Linked DNA regions of Homo sapiens: all the other regions are linked to region 5. The links are contacts of gene promoters, found by promoter capture Hi-C in blood cells and fetal thymus (Javierre and others, 2016). All regions are on one chromosome and are shown on one strand. The core of a region is centred on a gene start or on the middle of the fragment in contact, and the rest is flanking DNA. Distances in the headings are between cores, read along the strand shown.

Evidence for each region. The method cuts DNA at HindIII sites, captures the fragments that hold promoters and counts their contacts. A CHiCAGO score of 5 or more calls a contact.
Region 1: a contact is called between a fragment that was not itself captured here and the fragment with the promoter of TTC33 in region 5, in 1 of 17 cell types (fetal thymus). The highest score is 5.0, in fetal thymus.
Region 2: the fragment with the promoter of RICTOR here is called in contact with the fragment with the promoter of TTC33 in region 5 in 7 of 17 cell types (total CD8 T cells, total B cells, fetal thymus and 4 more); the score reaches 10.3 in total CD8 T cells.
Region 3: a contact is called between a fragment that was not itself captured here and the fragment with the promoter of TTC33 in region 5, in 10 of 17 cell types (monocytes, M0 macrophages, neutrophils and 7 more). The highest score is 16.4, in monocytes.
Region 4: a contact is called between a fragment that was not itself captured here and the fragment with the promoter of TTC33 in region 5, in 2 of 17 cell types (monocytes and naive CD8 T cells). The highest score is 7.3, in monocytes.
Region 6: a contact is called between a fragment that was not itself captured here and the fragment with the promoter of TTC33 in region 5, in 3 of 17 cell types (monocytes, M2 macrophages and total B cells). The highest score is 10.2, in monocytes.
Region 7: a contact is called between a fragment that was not itself captured here and the fragment with the promoter of TTC33 in region 5, in 1 of 17 cell types (monocytes). The highest score is 6.2, in monocytes.

What each region holds. Positions count from the first base shown.
Region 1 is chr5:39,164,876-39,167,994 of GRCh38, reverse strand. All of the region lies in intron 2 of FYB1 (FYN binding protein 1), which reads left to right. Among named protein-coding and RNA genes, the nearest start is that of FYB1, 53 kb to the left of the region's middle. The HindIII fragment of the contact is 1,567 bases long and covers 771-2,337 here.
Region 2 is chr5:39,072,951-39,075,795 of GRCh38, reverse strand. RICTOR (RPTOR independent companion of MTOR complex 2) reads left to right here and starts at 1,397. Exons shown (of 38, transcript NM_152756.5): 1 at 1,397-1,467; 2 at 1,638-1,685. The coding sequence starts at 1,419. RefSeq lists enhancers at 985-1,511, 2,038-2,564 and a silencer at 1,200-2,099. The HindIII fragment of the contact is 5,742 bases long and covers 1-2,845 here.
Region 3 is chr5:39,583,115-39,585,943 of GRCh38, reverse strand. No RefSeq gene overlaps it. Among named protein-coding and RNA genes, the nearest start is that of LINC02104, 64 kb to the right of the region's middle. The HindIII fragment of the contact is 2,841 bases long and covers 132-2,829 here.
Region 4 is chr5:39,209,838-39,212,879 of GRCh38, reverse strand. All of the region lies in intron 1 of FYB1 (FYN binding protein 1), which reads left to right. Among named protein-coding and RNA genes, the nearest start is that of FYB1, 8.2 kb to the left of the region's middle. The HindIII fragment of the contact is 1,397 bases long and covers 1,013-2,409 here.
Region 5 is chr5:40,754,432-40,757,297 of GRCh38, reverse strand. TTC33 (tetratricopeptide repeat domain 33) reads left to right here and starts at 1,337. Exons shown (of 5, transcript NM_012382.3): 1 at 1,337-1,474. RefSeq lists an enhancer at 1,314-1,463. The HindIII fragment of the contact is 9,414 bases long and covers 1-2,544 here.
Region 6 is chr5:39,565,607-39,568,774 of GRCh38, reverse strand. No RefSeq gene overlaps it. Among named protein-coding and RNA genes, the nearest start is that of LINC02104, 47 kb to the right of the region's middle. The HindIII fragment of the contact is 354 bases long and covers 1,658-2,011 here.
Region 7 is chr5:39,370,947-39,373,706 of GRCh38, reverse strand. It overlaps DAB2 (DAB adaptor protein 2), which reads left to right. Exons shown (of 15, transcript NM_001343.4): 15 at 282-2,030. Among named protein-coding and RNA genes, the nearest start is that of C9, 7.8 kb to the right of the region's middle. The HindIII fragment of the contact is 7,648 bases long and covers 1-2,760 here.

The DNA of each region.
Region 1 (3,119 bases), core at 305-2,804, 1.6 Mb after region 5:
TGAGTTTGTGATGGGCACTGTTGTTAAATAATATAATTGTCATAACTTTATTGTGGAGTAGAATTTTTGCCTTTTTACAGAGTAAGCTGATGCCCTGGAGGATTAAGTGATTGTGCTAATGAAATTAAAAAGTGATTACAAACGTCCAGTGACGGAGAGGGTATGAGGAGACAAGACTTCATTGAGGCACATTGCTGAAGCCTCACTGGAGGACAATTGGCAGATCCTACAGGAAAATAAAATATGCAAATCTTTCATCTCAGCAATTCTACTTTTAGATCTCTGTCCTAGAACACTTCCCCCCACCACTGCCCTGCAGTTACACAGAAAAGCACAAGTAGATGCTTAACATTACATTGTTTTTAGTCAAGGGGGAAGACTGAACAAACCTGGACTATCCCTAACACAGAATACTCTGGAACATTTACAAAGAACAAGATAGGCCCAGAATAGGCAGCACAATATTCAGCATGCAGAGCAATTTAGGTTTTTAATCAGATATTCCTGTGCATACATACAAAGGTCAGTAAACACTTAGAAAAAGTTCTGCAAAGATAAACAATGGTAGTTTCTGGGAAAGAGAGGGCAAGGAGGAGTGAGAGGTCATCTGAAACTCTACTTTATCTGTGTTGTAAAGCTTCTTCCAGAAATGAGTCATGTATTATTTGTGTAATAAAAAATAACTTAAAACAAAAACAAAAACAAGGGAGAGAGAGAGAGAGACAGAGAGAGAGAGAGAACTACCCAAGATCACACCTCTAGTAGAAGCTTGATCCCCGCATCATCTCATTTCAAAACGCTCGCTCTCTCCACTGTGCCCCACTACTTCTTTGTGGCTTTTATATTTTTTTCCTTCTGTGTCTTTTCTTCTTTTAGGTTGGTGCAAAGTTAATTGCAGCTTTTACCAAAAGTAATGGCAAAAACCGCAATTACCTTTGCACCAACTTTATATATCTTTCTCTCCTCTAAAACCTGATTTATCATCTTATGTTTATGTGCTATATTTTGACTCAGGGTCCCTCCTTTCTTTTTTTATTTATATAAATTTAAGGGATAAAGTGCAGGGGTTTTTTTTCATGGATACCGTGTGTAGTAATGAAGTCTGGGCTTTTATTATAACCATCACCAGAATAGTGTACATTGTACCCATTAATTAATTTCCAATCCCTCACTCTTGCCAACCCTCCCACCCTTCCCAGTCTCCAGGGTCTATTATTTCACACTCTATGTCCGCGTCTATATTTAATTTAACTCCCACTTACAAGTGAGAACAGGTGCTTTTTGACTTTCTGTTTCTCAATTATTTCATTTAAGATAATGTCCTCTACCTCCATCCATGTTACTGCAGAAGACATAATTTTATTTTTTTATGGCTGAGTAGTATTCCACGTATACCACATTTTCTTTATCAGTGTCATCCATTTTATAAGTTTCATCCATTGATGGACACTTAGGTTGATTCTATGACTTTGCTATTGTGAATAGTACTGTGATAAACATACAAGTGCAGGTGTCTTTTTGGTAAAATGATATCTTTATTTCTTTTTTTTTTTTTTTATGAGACGGAGTTTCACCTTGTTGCCCAGACTGGAGTACAACGGCACAATCTTGGCTCACCACAACCTCCACCTCCTGGGTTCAAGCTATTCTCCTGCCTCAGCCTCCCGAGTAGCTGAGATTACAGGCACCTGCCACCAGGCCCGGATAATTTTGTATTTTTAGGACAGAAGGGGTTTCACCATGTTGGTCAGGCTGGTCTTGAACTCCTGACCTCAGGTGATCTGCTTGCCTCAGCCTCCCAAAGTGCTGGGATTAGAGGCATGAGCCACTGCTCCTGGCCGATTTCTTTTCTTTTGGTTGAATATCCAGTAGTAGGATTGCTGAATCTTACAGTAATTCCATTTTTAGTTGTTTGAGAAATTTCCATACTGTTTTCTCTAGAAGCTGTACTAATTTATATACATTCCCACCAACGGTGTATAAGCATTCCCTTTACTCGACATCCTTGCCCACATCTCTTATTATTTTATTTTTTAATAATAGCCATCCTGACTGCTGTACGATGATATCTCATTGCGGTTTTAATTTGCAATTCTCTGGTGATTAGTGATGTGGAGCACTTTTTCATATTCTTGTTGGCCACATGTGTGTCTTCTTTTGAAAAATATCTGTTCAATGTCCTTTGCCCACTTTTTAATGAAATTATTTTGGGGGTTGTGAGTTGATTGTAGATTCTGGATATGAGTCCTTTGTTGGATGCATAGCTTGCAAATGTTTTCTCCCAATCTGCAGATTGTCTGCTTATTCAGTTGATTATTTCTTTTACTGACAGAAGCTTTCTAGTTTAGTTAAATCCCATTTGTCTATTTTTGGTTTTGTTGTATTTGCTTTTGAAGTCTTAGCCATGAATTTTTGCCTAGGCTAATGACCATAAGTTTTTCCTAGGTTTTCTTTTAGTATTTTTATAGCTTCAGATCTTACATTTAAATCTTTACTCCATCTTGCATTAATTTCTTGTGTATGGTGAGAGATAGGAGCCCAGTTTCATTCTTATGCATATGGCAGTCAAATTTTCCCAGCACCATTTATTGAATAGAGTATCATTTCCCCAGTGTACATTTTTGTCGACTTTGTCAAAGATCAGTTGGCTGTGGGTATGTGGCTTTCTTTCTGGGCTCTCTATTCCATTCCATTGACCTATGTGTCTATTTTTATACCAGTGCCATGCCGTTTTGGTTGCTATAGCCTTGTCGTATAATTTGAAGACAGGTAATGTGATGGCTCCAGCTTTGTTCTTTTTGTTTAGGATTGCTTTGTCTACTCAGGGCTCTTTTTGCTTCCATATGAATTTTATGATTATTTTTTGTAAGCAATGGCAACAATAGTCATTGCCATAGCAAAAGTAGCAAATATTTAACTTAACTGAGTACCTTCTCTTGTCACATGTCTGTATATGTAGTTGTGCTTCTTACAGGTTTACTGAGTCATAGTCACTTTATCTCCCTTTGAGTCACGCTAAGAACACTTGCTCTGTCCAGGCACTACAGGGAAGCTCTGCCTTCTTTGTTGGCAATTCTAGTTCTTTCTCCAGTGCATTACAATTCTTTGCCTGGTCTAAT
Region 2 (2,845 bases), core at 148-2,647, 1.7 Mb after region 5:
TTGTAATATTTTGCTTGATTTAATATCATGAACATTATTTCCTATTACTAAGTCTACCTCTTCACTTTTAATCGTTGACATAATTTACATAATCCCTACCTTTGGTCATTTAAGTGTTTCCAAATGTTCACTCTTATTAACAACTTCAACAAATATCCCCAATATTGCTTTTTTTTTCTTTTTTAAAGTAAGCAGAGAATTGGAATAAATTAGAAATCCAGGGCACTTACTCATCCAACAGATATTTATTGAATACTTATTTGTGCCAGATATTGCATTAACTGGGAGCTGGGAAAACAGAACTGGTTAAGGCTAGATCTCCACTTTTAATTAACTTTCAGTCTCATGGAATAGAAAGATGAGCTGAGGAACTGGAGAGGACAAATCGCTCCTCTCTTTAAAGTAAATGTAGTTCAAGAGAAAGCTGCTGGGTCAGTGGCCAGGTGTGTGTGTGTGTGTGTGTGTGTGTGTGTGTGTGTGTGTGTGTGTGTGTGTGTGTGTGTGTGTGTGTACACATACGTATTAACTAAGCAGTTTCTAGAATTAAAATCCCTAATGTTAATAGGCTTATGCATAAAATAGATTAATCCACAACACCTGCATGAGCCACGATCCTAGGAGCTGCAGAGCCATAAAAGCCGGACACAGTACCCAGCAGCCTCGCCTCGGCTCCCGGCAGAGAACACCCTCTCCCCGGCCTCCCGGCGCTGGCGCGATCCCACCGCGGGGACCGCCGCCCTGGTCCCCGGCCGCTGCACCCCCTTCTCGCGTCCTACGCCTGGCGGCCAAAAACAAAACTGCCTAACCACTTCCACTTGGAGAAGCCCTCCTAGCCGAGAGGGGCATTCTGAAGATCAAGGGCGAGGCTGGAAAACAAACTTTGTTACGTGTTAACTTAGTTGGAGCAAAGCGATTCCAGGAAAGGAGTCTAAAACTGTGCGCAGCGTTTTTATAAAAAAATGTTTCAGTGGATACACGGGGGAGCGGGGCCGTCTATGGCAGGGCTTCAGAGCAAGCAGGAGACTGGCAGGCCGGCGAGAGCAGGTGGCCCGCCGGCCGCATCCCGGCCTCCTCCTCCCCGCTCGCCTGCATTTGGACGACGGCTTCCGCGGCGGCCGGAGGGGAGCATCCTCTACACTGCCAACTCGCATCAATGGGACTTTCCTCGTGGGAACTGCCCCTCCCGGCGGACGTGCCCTCCGGGTCCGGCGTGGGCGGGCGGGTGCCGCGAACTCCTTGCAGACCTTGGGTCGGCTCAGTGCTCCCTCAGCGCTGGGGCCGAGCCTGCACCACCCGCCGCCGTCGCCGCCGAGGGGGCGGGGGAGGTGCCGCGGGGGGCGGGCGCGGCGCGCGGGGAGGGGAAGGGGTTCTCGCGCGATTGGGCGAGGTTTCCGGTGTTGTGACTGAAACCCGTCAATATGGCGGCGATCGGCCGCGGCCGCTCTCTGAAGAACCTCCGAGTACGAGGTAAGCCCGCTGCAACCCTCACTCCCCACCGCCCGGCGCCCGCCACCCCTGGCACTTGCCTTCCCCTGGCCCTGGGTTGGGGAGCGAGCCGGGGCGCTGGCCGGAGCCAGGGCAGCCGCAGCTGGCCTGCGAGCCAATCCTAATTGGGGCTGTGTGTCTGTTTCGCGCAGGGCGGAATGACAGCGGCGAGGAGAACGTCCCGCTGGATCTGACCCGAGGTAACGCGGGGCGCCGCGGGCGCCGCGAGGGCGCGCTGCTGGGGAGGAGCCGGGTCCGGGGCTGGGGGCCAGAGGCAGGGGCGGGCCCCGCACGGGACCGGCGGGGTGCGGGGGCCAGAGCCGGAGCCCCGCCTGCCGGCCCGCGGGAACCGAGCCCGGGGCCGCCTCGCCGGACCCATCCCCCTACCCAGCGCCCGCTTCCCTCGCCCGAGCCCTTCTCCGGGCCTCGGGCTGCTGCGGGTGCGGGGGAGCCCCGAGTGGAACTCGGCAGACCCGGCGACCCTCTGGGCTCGAGCTCCGGCAGAGTGGTTTGCACCTATCCCGGAGTCCGGCAGCCCAAGCTAGGGGCAGCTGGAGGGAGGTAGAGGCTGTTATTTAGGTTGCAGGAGGATGTTTGAGGGAAGAGCGACCACATCCTGCCCTCCCCGTCCCCGGAGCAGAAGCCGGACCTGCTCGGTGCTTGCCGACTGCGTGACTGCTTTCCCCTTTGCCCACCGTCCTGTGGGGACCCGCAGCATTGATAACTTGGTAGTGAAACCTAGAACTGGTCATTACTGCTAAATGTCTGGTTTATGCTGTTTCCCTTCTGCTTCCCTTTCCCGGGCCGCTGGGACTGTAGTTGGCTAAAGACCGCCCCCTCACCCTGCTGCAGGTTCATTGTTTACCTTCTGCAGTGGAGATGGGTTTGTTTACACCTTCCGAACTGGGGAAACTCGGGTGATATTTTTAATGACCTAATCCCGTTACTAGCCAGTGTTTCCTCTATCACTTACAGTACTAGAGTTTATTCGACATTATCTCGTTGAAGATTTAGTAGTTACGTACAAGATTCTTTTCTCTTCCACGGTAAACAGGATTGAGCCTACTGATTCCGACGAAGTCATATTTCACACGGGCTGTAGCTTGGAGTGTAACCCGGTTCAGCTGTACAGAATCAGTTTCTGAGGTCTATAAAACACCTTAGGAAGTAAACAAAAAAACTTGTTGTAGACATTCTGTATGAGATCAGTTTTTTACCCTATGTCGTACCTGACGTAATGACTGTTATCTACAGTAATTTGTTAAAGCTGGGCTCCTTGTTGACAACGGCTAGAGTGAAAGCATAGTGCATTTTCTAATTTGTTTTATTTTGCTTATCACGATGTAAGATTACTGTTTTA
Region 3 (2,829 bases), core at 303-2,802, 1.2 Mb after region 5:
ATTAGGTTGGTGCAAAAGTAATGGCAGTTTTTGCCATTAAAAGTAATTTTGCTATTACTTTTAATGGCAACAAACACAATTACTTTTGCAACAACCTAATATGTCCTCCATCGCCAGATGCAAGGGAAGCTTGAAAAGCAATATGTAGCTTTACCAGCATGGAGAGCAGAAGGCATTCAGATAGGAGATCAGAAATAACTGTCACATAAACCAACCAGCAGTCTACAGATACCTGGTCTGTAAGAATGTTGAAGGGATGATGATTTGGGTGAAGGAGGAAAGAGAAGCTCTTATTGGGCGCCTACTATATGTGAGGCAGTGAGACTGCTAGTTCCATACATCTTCTCATTTCATCTTCCCAATAGCCCTTTGAGGTTACTATCAGCTTTTCCATTTTTGCAGAGAAGAAAACTGAGGTTCAGAAAATTTTGAAGTCACATTCTAGTACAAAGGTCTACTGAACGATGAAGAGAGGAATAAAATTTAAATGTTTCAAAATCCTAACACCATGCTCTTTCTAGTATTCCAAAATGATTATTATTAGACCTAGGAGGTCATTCCTAGTTGACTTTTTCCCCTAGCAGCCACTCTTCTTCCGAAGATATTTTATTCTAACAGTGTTCACCAAAACTCAGAGCACTTCACCAAAATCATAAATCACTCCAGGGCTGTGGCTATGGGAGTAGCTGAAATGCCTTAGTTCCATCACAAACGTCATGAGATGCAGGGCCTGGTTAACAAAATGCAATATGCAGTTAAAATGGGAATGTGACACAACAAGCCTTGCCCCTGCCATAGTGAGTGGGATTCCTGGACTTCTTACAGCAAATGTTATCCTTTTCACTAAGAATCATTGGATAAATTGTATTTGTCGGTGACAAGCACTAGCAGGAATGCAGCTCAATTATTTGAAGCTGACATCAGGAATTATATCAGCTTTATGTCTTCAGATCTGCCCTTTCAGACATGAGTTTCCAGATATATTGCTGAGAGATTTTTTTACAGAGAAGAAATTCCATTGGTGGAAGTTGGCTTATCACTGAAAGAAGGCAAATCTTTTATCAAAAGTTTCCACAAACATAGGAAAATTTAGCTAAGAAGAAACAATGTAATTCAAAAGTCTGTCCCAGAACTAAAATAATTTTTTTATAATCTGAATTGTATCTTCTTCAACCTCATCTCCTTCCCCTTGAACTAATCTAGTGCTTTATATCCTTGTTGGATTTATATAATTTAAACTCATCAGTTTACTTGTGTTTTATGAAAGCAATGGAGAAAATTAAAAATTCAGCCTATTCAACAAAACGTATTGTGCAAGACAAAACACATTTGAGATTTGTATTTCGCTCTAATCAAATGTAATGGTTGTAGGAACACAAGTTAACCAACAGCAAGAAGATAAAAAATTCTTAAAAATAATCCATTCACCTGCAGTGAAAGAATGTTCTGCACAGTAAAAATACAAAATAGGATTTTATAATTTGTATATGCTTAGGATAATAGGAATTACTGAATTTATTCATCCATGAAAATAAGCACTGGTCCATTTACCTGTGGCTCTGAAGCCTGGTGAAGCAGGAATGAGGATACCAACCCCTGAGGGAGATTCAGCTCCTTCAAAATGAAGACAAAAGAAATCTTTGAGGTATAACAACTGTTTTAAAAAAATTAAAAAGAAGAGAACTATTTTCAGCCTGTTTAGAACAAAGATTGGATTTAAACCCAGTTTATGCATCACTCATATCCAATGAACTTGGCTCATAACACCCCCACGCTGACACTTGACCACTTGCTTTGATTTCTAGCCAGCAAGAGTAGCCCCAGAGACAGGTATCAAACTCCAGCAGAGCCACCCCCATAGATCTCATGTGTGGCAGCAACTGCCAGGATGAGAAAGTTCAACCGTGCTCTGGCCTTACAGGATCCATTTAGCCTTTGGTTCCCCTCAAGGCTTCCTGGCAAGCAGAATACAACCTGAAACTGCAAGAAAGCCATTCCCTTAGCCAGTGAACTTGGAGTCATGCACGACCTGAGATGAGGAAAAATCCAGCAGATAAGTGGTTTCACCATTTTTCTTCCTCTATAGACAATTCTGATGCACAGGAGTTCTGTACAACTTTCCTAAAGATGTTCTGCAAGATAAGCAACCAGCCATGTATATTGGAAAGCTATGGCCAGTTCTGTAATGTATCTGCTGTCTTTGACTCTAGGTTTCCTGAGACTGCACCCCCATCCTCATGAAAGCACTAGCTTGTAAGTTCTTGTCATGCTTCATTTCCTGAGGAATCCATGTTGATACAAAGTATACATATGTAACAAACCTGCACATTGTGCACATGTACCCTAGAACTTAAAGTATAATAAAAAAAGTAACAATTAAAAAAAAAGAAATAATAATCATATTTGCTCCCAGTAATCGTTTATGAGGTGGCGGAGGGGCAGGGCTTTAATGGTAGGCATTCCTGAAGTCTAAACAGCGTGGGAATGAGTCTGGCAGAACCCATGGATTCTAAGGAGGTCTAAGTCTGAGCCAGTGTGAAGTAAATAGGCTAACCCCCATCCTACGAAAATGTAGGTGGAAATGAGAATCACATTTTGCCATGCCCTATTAAGACAGACCAGAGAGAGAACGGGCAGGTGTTCTCCTGAGAGGTTGTGGTACGTTTAAGCGCTCAAGTAACTCTGAACAGGTGCATTTTATTAGAAATAAGAACAGACCACGCTTTCAGAAAGAATCGGGGAAGCAAGGAAGAAGAAGAACAAATGTGAAGAAGAACTTCCTTACAAATCTTGAGGTCTGGGCGCTCTGAGTTCTGACAGGTGTTAGGA
Region 4 (3,042 bases), core at 462-2,961, 1.5 Mb after region 5:
ATGAATCCATGAATGAATGGACAAGTGAGAGCCCAGAGCAGCTGAAGCCATGAAGTGCTTTGGAAAGAGAAGCGTGCCTGGGAAAAGAGAGTGGCTGAGTGCTAAGAGCAGGGTGAACACCATGGAAAACTTGAAATTGAAAACATCACAATTTTAATGAGAAAAAGCGCAACCCAAAGTGAAGAGCACCATTATAACAAAGGTGAGAAAAGATGCTCATCTTATGACAGAGTCTTGTTTCTGTGCAGTTATCAGAAAAAGTGAGCTAAGAGGTGTGATGTGCTTATATTGTTTAATCCTGATTACTAAATACCAAATGCGTTTTCTTCAAAGCTCTAAAGGAGAAGAAATGGAATGGGAACAAGGGGGAGGGTTGAGGGCAGGGAGGATATCCCACATTGTCATATTCCTTAGAGTAAGGTTTCAAAATATTATCTATTTCTCTTTGTGGAATCTTCCATAGCTTTCCATTTCTAATGTATAGCTTTCACTTTCCTCAAATCGAACTCTGGATCTCTCATTGACTAGAAGCTGCCACATGCCTTTTTTTATTTTTTATTTTTTATTTTTTTGAGACAAGGTCTTGCTCTGTCACCCAGGCTAGAGTACAGTGGTGCATTCATGGCTCACTGCAGCCTTGACCTCCCGGGCTCAAGCAATCATCCCACCCCAGCCTCCAGAGTAGCTAGGACTACAGGCACTCACCACTGTGCCTGGCTAATATTGCATATTCTTTTGTAGAAATGAGGTCTTGCTTTGTTGCCCAGGCTAGCCTCAATCACCTGGCCTCAAGCAATCCTCCTGCCTCAGCTTCTCCAATTGCTGGGATTACAGGCCTGAGCCACCCATTGTGCCCAGCTGCTGCCACCTGTCTTGGTTAGCTCGTTGAGTTCTTCCTCTTCTTAGCAGTTTTCACACAGATCTTTTCACATGCTGGGAAGGAAGTCTCTAGAAAACCCCACAGATAGCCTCATTCCTCCACCCCCACTTCACTCCATGTAGACAATAAGCTTTCAGTTTCTAACATCATGTTGAGTGTAGAAAAGAAATTTACCACCCAGGAGCGTGTGTCTGTGTCTGTCTATGTTTTCGTGTTTGTTGGGAGTGACACGAAGGCTGAGGGAAAAAATAAAGCATAACATTTCTATTTTTCGCTTGACAAACAGTATCTTTCCCAGACATCAAAGATTTTTATTTCAGACTTCAAATGTCCTTAGCAAAATAAAGTTTTTGTTGGGGTGTACATGAAAATAGAACAACCATAAGAAATAGGCCGGGCGCAGTGGCTCACGCTTATAATCCCAGCACTTTGGGAGGCCGAGGCAGGCGGATCAAGAGGTCAGGAGATCTAAACCACGGTGAAACCCTGTCTCTGCTAAAAATACAAAAAATTAGCCAGGCGTGGTGGCGGGCGCCTGTAGTTCCAGCTACTCGGAGAGGCTGAGGCAGGAGAATGGCGTGAACCTGGGAGGCGGAGCTTGCAGTGGGCCGAGATCGCGCCACTGCACTGCAGCCTGGGCGACAGAGCGAGACTCCGTCTCAAAAAAAAAAAAAAAAGAAAAGAAAAGAAAAAGAAATAGTAGCTGAAATTTAGGTCTCTCTTTGAGGTTGGAGGAACAGAAAAAATGAAAGAACTTATATTGTATTATGAAGTGTACATCAACTATTAGCCTAAGAACCAAATAAGCCACTAATAAGATATCTATGAAAACATTTTTCAATTATCTACAAGTTCGTTAGTCAAAATGTAAATTCCTGAAAAACTGTTTTCTAATTTGGTATTTTCAGGTCATGCAGGCTGAGTGAATTATCCTAAACAAATGTAAGTTAAATTTGCTATAAAAAATTGTAAAATAGAATAAGAAAAATAAGTGGTTTTAGGACCATTTGTTGTTCTGTACTATCTACATCTCACTCTATATTCTCTACATCCTATCGCCATTCTATCCACATCAAGAACTCAAAAACATATAGCAAAACAAACCTCAGAAACACATAGAAACTCATATATATTTATATGTATGTATTTATACTAGAGACAGGCTCTCGCCACGTTGCTTAGGATGAACTCAAACCCTTGGGCTCAAGCGGTCTTCCCACATCAGCCTCCTGAGTAGCTAGGACCACAGGAATGCACTATCATGCCTGGCTAGAAAGTCGTATTTAACTTCCTTATCCATTTATGCTTAAGCCCTCAGAGGCCATGGCAAAGTCAAAACTATTTGTACAGGAGCTATTTTGTAGGATAACCAGGAAAAGAACATTGAAGGTTCGAATTTGTAGAATGATGATGATTGTCCCGCTCCTGATTCTAAAAACAGGGGGTACACAAAAATCCAACTGATGCACATGCCTTATAGAGAATACAAGGCGCCAGCATTTGGGAGGTGGACCATCACCATCAAAGCTTTACTACTTGCTAGGCTATCTTGCTTCTTCTGCTCTAATTCACTCTGGAAGAGAGAACACAGTAGAAACAGGAGAAGGATCCGGATCATCAGTGCTCGGAATAACACCAGACCAGGAGATAATGCACAGCGATATCTGTGGTGGTTTTTCTGCCAAGGTCCGAGGGGACCTGGCGGGGCACACACACCACCCAGAAAGTCCCCATTTAAGTCAGGTGTTTCCTTCCACATGACACCTCACAATGCAAGGCCATAGCAGACAGGGCATCGCTGGGGTTGTTGCAGTTCCACCTCCACCTTCACAAGTTACTGAAAAACATACAGGGGTTGTCACAATCAGGGCTACCACCGCTGCTTCCGCCACCAGGTCCTCCTACCCATGCCTTCGCCCAGAGCCTGCAGCAAAGGGCTCCCGCCCCAAGAACTTAATTTGCGGCGAGAGTCAAGTTCCCACATCCTGTTGAAGAGGGGCCTGGTGCTCTCTCCAGCCTCCGAGGCTCAGCCCACTGGAATGCATCACAGCCCATTTGCAATGAAATAGATATTCAATTGGCAAGTGCTTAAATCACAACTGCAGGTCAACAAAGGAGCTAAGAAAATCATCTCCTCCACTCCCATCTGTATGACCAATCAA
Region 5 (2,866 bases), core at 88-2,587:
TTATAATAAAGTAACTTTTACAACTTCATCAGGGATATTCTCTGGTGACAGCGTTCATTTTTCCATTTTTTTTTTTTTTTTTGAGACCGTGCCTTGCTCTGTCATCCAGGCTGGAATGCAGTGGCATGACCTCGGCTCACTGCAGCCTCGACCTCCCAGGCTCAAGGGATCCTCCCACCCCAGCCTCCCGAGTAGTTGGGATTCAGGTGCGTGCCGCCAGGCCTGGCTAATTTTTGTATTTTTGGTAGAGATGGGGTTTCGCCATGTTGGCCAGGCTGGTCTCGAACTCCTGACCTCCCAAAGTGCTAAGATTACAGGCGTGAACCACCGCGCCCGGCCCATTTTTCTTACTGTGAGCGTGTGGTGGTGAAGAGCTCCAGTACGGTTTGGTGTCATTACTGTAATTCCTGTGGAGGGGCCAGCACCTTGACCTACCATTGCTTTTCCACCATCAGTGCAAATGTCAGCATTGTGCAAAGGGCAAATCACGTCTTCATATTAGTATGAAAATAATTTTGGCTTTGAAAGGGTGTCATTGACCCTCAGGACAATCGTTGGTCGACATCAGTGGTTCTCAACGGGGCAGGGTGGGAGGGATAGTTTTTCTTCCAGGGGAAATTTCACTGGGGAAACCATTGGCTGTCACAATCGACTGGTGGTGACATCCCGTGGACAGAGACCAGAGATGCTGCTAAGCACCCTACAATGCACAGAACACCCCGTCCCCCAACAAAGCATTATCCAGTTTGAAATGTTAATGGTGCTGAGGCTGAGAAAGTATGACTTCCAAAAATGAGTCTTTTGGGCAGGAGAGTTGGAGAAATTAACAATCTTGATTACCTTTATTACATGTGCTCGTTTATTTTCAAGACATGATGCACAGCTACGTTCTGGCTGTAATTCTGCCTTCTGGGTCCAACTCACTTGTAACTTTAACGTGAAGCCTGCAGTTCAGCCTCGAGCCTCCCTGACTAGCCTCCCCGCCCGGCCGCCTCGAGCCCTTTATAACCGAATTTTGCCTCTCTGTTCTCTGCGTCTGGCCGACCTCATCAGCTAGGCTATAAACCCCTTCGGGGAAGGAGCATATCCTAATCCTTTGAATCCCGTAAAATAAGTTTTCCCCTCACCTTGTTCCCCACTGACGGGACGCGAGGCTGCGCGGTACCGCGGGGGCGGCTCCTCTCGGTGCGCTCTTCAGCCCGCGCAGCCTCATTTTCCCGCGCTCGTGCGCTGCGGTCACTCAGGGCTGCTGCTAGAGGGCGCGCCCAGCCGCGTGGCCCTGACTACTACAAATCCCAGAAGGTCATGCAGTGGGGGCGGCCGCGGTGACTTCTGGGATTTGTGGTCCCGGAGAAGAGATTGGCGGAGGGGAAAGACTGAGTCGTCTTTCCTTTGCCCGCTTCTGTGGACTGTTCGAACGCCCAGGGGTGGGCCAAACCCGTTTCTTAGGAAACCAGGAATCCAGGGAAGGCAGGTAGGAATTTGGGCGTGATAATTTCTGCTTCCAGTGGGAAAGAATGTAAACACGGGGCCTTGGGAGCCGTTATCGGGTAACTGGGGCTGCCCGGTCGGCGGTGGAAGCTGAGGAAGAGGAGGAAAAAGAGGCGAGTGGGTGTTGTGATTAGGGGAGAAAGGACCTTCGGAATAGGAGTTGAAACCCGACGGGATCCGGCAGAGCCTGGTCGCTAGGGTTGGTCTCCAGGGACAAGCGAGTCTGAGGGTCGGGCCCGCCGTGGCACCTTCGCGGAGCTGCGCGGCCGCAACCTTCCCTGAGCGGTGGGACGGGCGGGACGAGCCGGCCGCTCCCCGCTGGAGAGGTGTCTGCGGCCCGGGGCGGTCCGTGAACGCGCAGGTGACGTCCGGGGCAGCCTTTCTGAGCGTTTTTATTATTGTTGACCGATGAAGGGAAAGTCACTAATACTGGTTTTTCTCTTGCGGTGGCGTTTTTGGGTAAATCGTTTCTTGGATTCCTCACCTCTGAATACCTCCTTTTACCCAGAAGGATGCTGTTGTGATTTCCTGATCTTGTTCATGTAGTGGTTTTTCCCTTTGGGTGCTGCATCCTCAGACACACTCAAGACAAGCCCTCTCTGGCGGCTGGGTAAATGTGAAGCCGTCGCCAGTTGTTGAGCGCCTACTATAGGGATCTTTGTAACAGTACAGGAATTTAGAATACAGCGTCGTTGTTTAGAATCGTTATGCCATTCCTGAAATATAATCCTATATAAAAGGTTGAATTTGTCTGGTTTCATGAGTTTAACATGAAACCGGTGTGGATTGTGGTTTACTCTCATGGTTTCTTACTCTGGTAAAAAAATGTTAAGTCTAGGATGTTGAAGCCTCGTGCTTCTAACTAGACTCAGGAAAGCCTCCTTCATAAGAAGTTTTAATTTCATGTTCAGATAGTCATAGAGGAACAATAAACTCGTTCGGCTTAAGATATCTGAAACAACTGGGAATGTTAAATTTTCTAATGCAGAAAGTGCTTTGCATGCTCTAGGATTCACATACCTTTTTAAGCCTGGCTAAGTTTTCTTCAAAGCTTAAGTCCTCCAGAAAGCCTCAAGTGTCTCTTCTCTGATGTCATGGCATCCTTTGTTTACTCTCTTGTAGCACATATCGTGTATGAAATTGACTGTACTCTGTGGTTTCCAGACACTTTTGAAGAAAATATAAAACTTTGCTAATGGCCTTGATAACAGATTCATGCTTTTACACAGTAGTGGGCCCTTGATACTACTGTTTGGTATCTCTATTTTTCCTTTGTTGCTTTTCCTTATCTCCACAGTGACTATTTTAGTCTTTTCCCTTTTTCTCAAGAACTCAGATCTGTTATTTTCCTTTTACTTTGAGCAGATGACTAGCC
Region 6 (3,168 bases), core at 585-3,084, 1.2 Mb after region 5:
AGGTCCCACAGCTAATAAAAAGTAGCACTAGGATTTAAGCCCAAGCAGTTTGACTCAAAAACTTATGACTGTATCCACTATAATTGACTAATTCCCAAAGTAAAATCCCTCATTTATATCAATGGGTGTTGGATGGAAATGTTATTCTAACCATATCAGATAGTCAAAACAAATAAACAAACAAAAACAAACAAAAAACCACATGTTACAGAAGCAAAGGTATAAGTAGCACAGAGGACAAGATGATTAACTCTGTTCAAGGTAATTTAGGTACCTCGTCAAGGACATACCTGCAAGAAAATGAATGAGATGTGTGTCAGACACATAGGACTAGAGAAGAGGGTCCAGGCAGAAGGAGCAGCGTGTGCAAAGGCCAGCAGCACTGAATAGCATGAAGTGTTTGTGTAACTGGCAGCAGAATGGTTTAGTTGGAATGTAAGCCATAGGCAAGGAAATAAAGCTGGCCAATTAGGCAAGATTTAGATCTGATCACATGGGGCTTCAGTGTGATGTATTCTCAGAGGTTTGGAGGTTTTATCCTATGGATGACACCAACTAACTGAAAGATTCTAGGCTTGTGATGTGTGAGTGCTGGTGGTGGTGGCATAGGTTGCTGTAGCAAGGCTAAGAAACTGAAAACAGAAATCCACTATATTATTTTCCACAAGAGAGTCACTCCCCTTAATTTTAACATAAAGCAGTTAGGGCCATCTCAGAGGAACTCATGCAGGCAGAGGGCATTAAGTGAAAAGAGCAAGTTACCTGTAACAGCCCACACATTTCCCTCCGAGGTACTAAACATAGAAGAGAATGTTTTCTACTTAATTTGCTATTGCTACATTCCTTCCTCTACCTTATTTCAAGTAATTTAGAGCATCTCAGTTGTCTCCTTTTTCAAGCTACTTGTCTGTGGTGCAATCAAAACACATTTCTCAGTATTTATCTGCACAATTCATGGTTTCAATCAAGTGTTGACTTCTTTGATACAAGTAAGTTGATAACCTTGGAAACCTTTGCACTGATTGTAAATAGGGAGCTGAAGTCTCTTTACCACTAACAGGTCAGTACTGTTTGTTTCACACTAATAAATGTACATGTACATATAGATATATATGTGTATCTATATATACATGCATACATATATATAGATATGTATGTATATATACAGGTATATATACATACACAGACATATATACACATATATATTGACTTAATTTTTAAACTTTACTCCTACAAATTTAAGGGAAATACTGTTAATGTTTTAAATTTTATCCTGTGCATTAGCAATACCTGATCGACAGAGTTGTTTTAAGGCTTAAATAATAATAACATATAATGTACTTAACACAGCCTAACCAAAGCAGACACTTGCTCATAACTCCACCCTCCTCACTTCTAGCAGATTAGAAATGGACATCATAAATTTCATACTATATTTGACTGGACAGTATCAGGCAAAAAATAGAAGTCTACTTCAAACTATCTTAAATAAAAAAGGAACTTTTTTGGCTTTTGTAAAAGGAAGTTCAGAAATGGCTAAAGCCAGGTCCTGGATTGGATTAAATATATCAAATCTTTCATTCTCCTCCCTCCTCTTCTTTCTTTTCTTCCTTCCTTCCTCTTCCTTCCTCAGTACTGGCTAGATACTCAGGAAGCTTATCCTCAAGAGTGGCTAGGATGGCTGCCAGCAGCTCTAGACTTAAACTTCACCAGCTAAGCAATTTCAAAATAGAAAACATTTCTTTCCAATAGCTTCATCAAGAATATCCCAAAAGGCTGGCATAACCTAAAAGAAATAGAAATCCTGAAAATCATTAGAAAATTATAATCACAATGGGTACATTATGCCTAGAATACTGCATGGAATTCTGGTAAATTCAAATCAGGAAAAAGAAAGCTGACAAATATTCAACTAAAGGCAATTACTCTGACCCAGAGTATAAAGAAGTTTCCATATTGGGCCATGAAATAAAGATTTGACTCAAACCCAGAAAAATAAGGGCCTGAAGCTTGCACATAACAAGCCTGGGCATAGGAGAATAAATAAGGAAAAAAAAAAAAAAGGCATCTTAGCCTCTTGGGAATATGACCTGGCAAATTGGTAGTGTGTTTGTAAGAAGAAAATGTGTTCTTATTGTTCATCTCCCACTTATGAGTGAGAAAATGTGGTGTTTTGTTTTCTACACATACCGGGGCCTGTCGGGGAGTGGGGGGCAAAGGGAGGGAGAGCATTAGGACAAATACCTAATACATGTGGGCTTAAAACCTAGATGACAGATTGATAGGTGCAGCAAACCACCACAGCACATGCATATCTACGTAACAAGCCTGCACATTCTGCACATGTATCCCAGAACTTAAAGTAAAACAAAAAATAAAAAAAGAATATTCAGTCAAATTTGTCTATCTGCACAAAAAAATAAAAATAAAAATAAGTACATTTTTTAAAAAAGAAAATGTGTGCCTTCCTCCAGACAGACATAGCCGTGTTCCAGAGAGAGGGCTCAGCCAGGAGACTTGGGATGGACTTCAGCCTTTCATTGCGCCCTTGTTCAGCCACCTTTGGAGAGGCACTACCTACATAAACATAGCCAGCTGCTCTGGCTAAGAGAACATACAACACATCATCCGGTACTTGCTTTATGAATTAGTGAGTTTAAATACAAACCAATTTTCATTGCCAAACCCTTGATTATTAGAACTAGGTGAGCATACATTGTTATAAATATATGTAAGTTTCTGGCAAATTTTTACTTTCCACAACAGATGGGAGTAAACTTGCAGAATATATTTTCTTGATATGGTACATGCTAACATATTAAATAGTTTGAAAAGAATTAAGATTAATAAACTCAAGCAGCTACAGGGGTATGTATCTAGTTTGACATAAAATGGGTTATTATGTTTTTGCATATGAACATAACTTCATAAACTCACCAAAAGTTGAGTGGGAGTCCAATGTAACTCACCTGTGATGACAGATGACATCACAGTGATCAGATCCTTCTATACATTTTTTGGTATTGTCATCAGGACCATTGCTTTGACCCATTGTATCCAAAGTGAGTTATTTATACCCCTGTAAGTACCTAGAGGATTACTGGTGGTACACAGAAGGGGTGGAGGTAGTCTATGACTTGCAGGCACTTGGGCCAGGTGAAAGGAAGA
Region 7 (2,760 bases), core at 141-2,640, 1.4 Mb after region 5:
TCCTTCCTTCTTTAGGTCATGAAGGAAGGATAGTTTAGGTCAACCTGCTACATCAATAGATTGGGTAAGGGGAACTCTCATGGGATAAAATAACTAACATTGTTGAGCACTTGCGCTAAGCATTTTATTAGATGCTCTACATTTATCATCTTCATCAATCCTCACATCAGCCCTAGGAGATACTATTACTGACATCTTTAATAATGACTTGATATTTAATACATTGATATTCAGTTCAAAAATTCTAACCACAAGTTTCTTTCTTCTCCATACCTCTCTAGGAACTTGGTCTGCAGACCATCCAGAGGAATAAAAAGGTTGGCCTTAGTAGTCAAAAACAAAGCTGATAGCCAGACACGTTCTGATTTCTGCCCTTGTTCCAGCTTTGACGTATTATCTGTTGCCTTATTTCTCATTGCCTCTTCTACTTGTAAAATGCTTTTCACTTTCTGTCTAGGTTAAAGCTAAACTGAATCTATGGCTTTAAATAAATTAAGATCCTAAACTCTCTAGCTTAAGTGTAAATGAAGTACAGTAGTTTCCCTACTGAACCCTGCCTCTTGTGTCCCTGGAACCTTCTAGAACACCTGCCTTCTACCCTCTGGTTGGGAGATGCAGCCACCACATCCCTTCATATCATACTGTTTTGAATAAATTTTCAAATCCTTATTGTTCAGAGTTGTTTGGGGGTTCTGTTTCAGAGCATAAAACCTAAAGGTTATAGTAGAACAAGGCACCTTCTTAAAAGAAATCTTGCTTCAGACCATCAGTTACAGAGAATTTCTAAAGTAAAATTGAAGCAACTACAACTTCTCCTTAGACACTTTGGAATCTAACCACTTAAGGACCTTTTTAAAGAGATAGCTTCTCTTCTTTCTGAAGATCAATTTCTCCCAAGGCCAAGATTGTCCTTTTCTCCCATTTCTTGCTAGCTATTGCAAATGAGGGAAGAACATTATTCATCTCTCCTCCCCTTTTTTTTCTGATTCTTTTTTCAGTCAGTTTTGCTCCTGGGTTCAAGTAGTATTACCACCCTTTCACAAGCAACAGACTCTCACAGGGCAAAAAAAAAAAAAAATCTAATGATTCACAGACAGATCTGGAGCCTCTCTTCATTCTCAGTAATTGCTAGTCCCAAGAACTAGAATTGCAAATGGGCACAACCTATATCCTTCCTGTGGAAGAGGAGGCCACTCTCTTGAGCTGAAGTTCCAGAAGAGCAGTTAATGTTCAAGAGAAATTGAACTCAACTCAGCAACAAAGGACTCTATTTTGAAGAGCAACATATCACAAAGCTAAATGTGATTGTGCCAAACACATTAGGTGCTTATTTGGGGTCATGCTAGGCCTTTATCAAGTAACTGGAAAACTTTTCTTGCAGCCACAATCTCAATGTCGTTAGTAGGAAGATAAGAGGGGAGAAAAAGCTGTAGAACAAATGTTTGGGGTTACCATTGAAAATCTAATGTCTGCAATATTTTTCTCCTCACAACTTGGAAACGTTCCCAGTTCATTTTCAGTCCTGTTGTGAGCACAGTTCTGAAGGGTTTATTATTGTCAAAATAAGTTTTGTTTTGTTTTGTTTATGTTGGGTTTTTAATGTTGTCTCTTGACCCTTAATGCTCAGGTTCTTGTGGGAGTTAATCAGCCACATCCAATGTTACCTTGAGGGGGAAGAAGAGGGTGATGCTCAGAAGCTAAACAAGACAGGGGCCACATGACCCTCTATTGATTAGCCCCAAGTAGAAAGTCCTGTGGTTTTATGTTTAATGGTAATAGTTGATCATATATGGCATAATTTTCTATCAGCTTCCTACTCAGTCACTATAAACACAGACTTGAAATAGTACTTTAAATGTCCAAATACCTAAATGTGCTAAACTGGAGGTAACTATTTCTAGGTAGTTGAATTTTTGAAAGTCATGATCAGCCACACAACTGTTTTGTACATACTTATTTTCTCATGCACTTTTCTGTATGCAAATAAAGCTATAAATTTACTCATTTCAATAAACTGGAGTGGCAGAATATCATGTGGTACCATCGGTTTATTCTACCTGCTTTGAGTTGACATTAGAGGCAAGCTATAAAACATACCAGTCTGAAGTGGAGAAAATGTTAGCTATAATAGATTCTGGATTGTCACAACAGTGAAGAGAAAGTGGAAATCCATGAAATAGGACCGTGAGTAAATTACCGTCTGATCTATTTCACACCTTCTTCTGTCTCAAACCCACACACACTCCCTTTCCGGGAGTGTAAGGAAGACTAGTAGATAAGACCTGTACCAGAACAACCTCAGCTGACATCCACTATAAAATCACTCATTAGTGCACTATTGGTTCATGCCTTTTACCCTTGGCTGCCTCTTGTTTTTTACTCAGTCATATTTGACCTCACCAAGACACGACTGTGTGGACTGCTCTAGGCTGGCACAGGCCCCTCTGGAGAGCTGTTGCATGAGGTGAGTGGGCTGATGAACAGATGTTTTTAGCATTAGGGCGCTCTTAAACTGTCTCACCTAGTATAAAAGTTCAAGGTTCTCATTCACTGCAAAAAGACCTGCAACTACAAGAAAGAGAATCCCAAGGTGGGCTTTGCATGGATATAGAAGTCTTGGTATTAAACCTAACTTTTCTAAGGAATAAGACATTTTGGGGTAGGATTATCTATTGGTGTATAATATTTTGGAATGTTCCTTATTACTGCCTTACCTTTCTCCTTGACTGAAACATTTGGTCTCTTTCTAACAATAGTGAG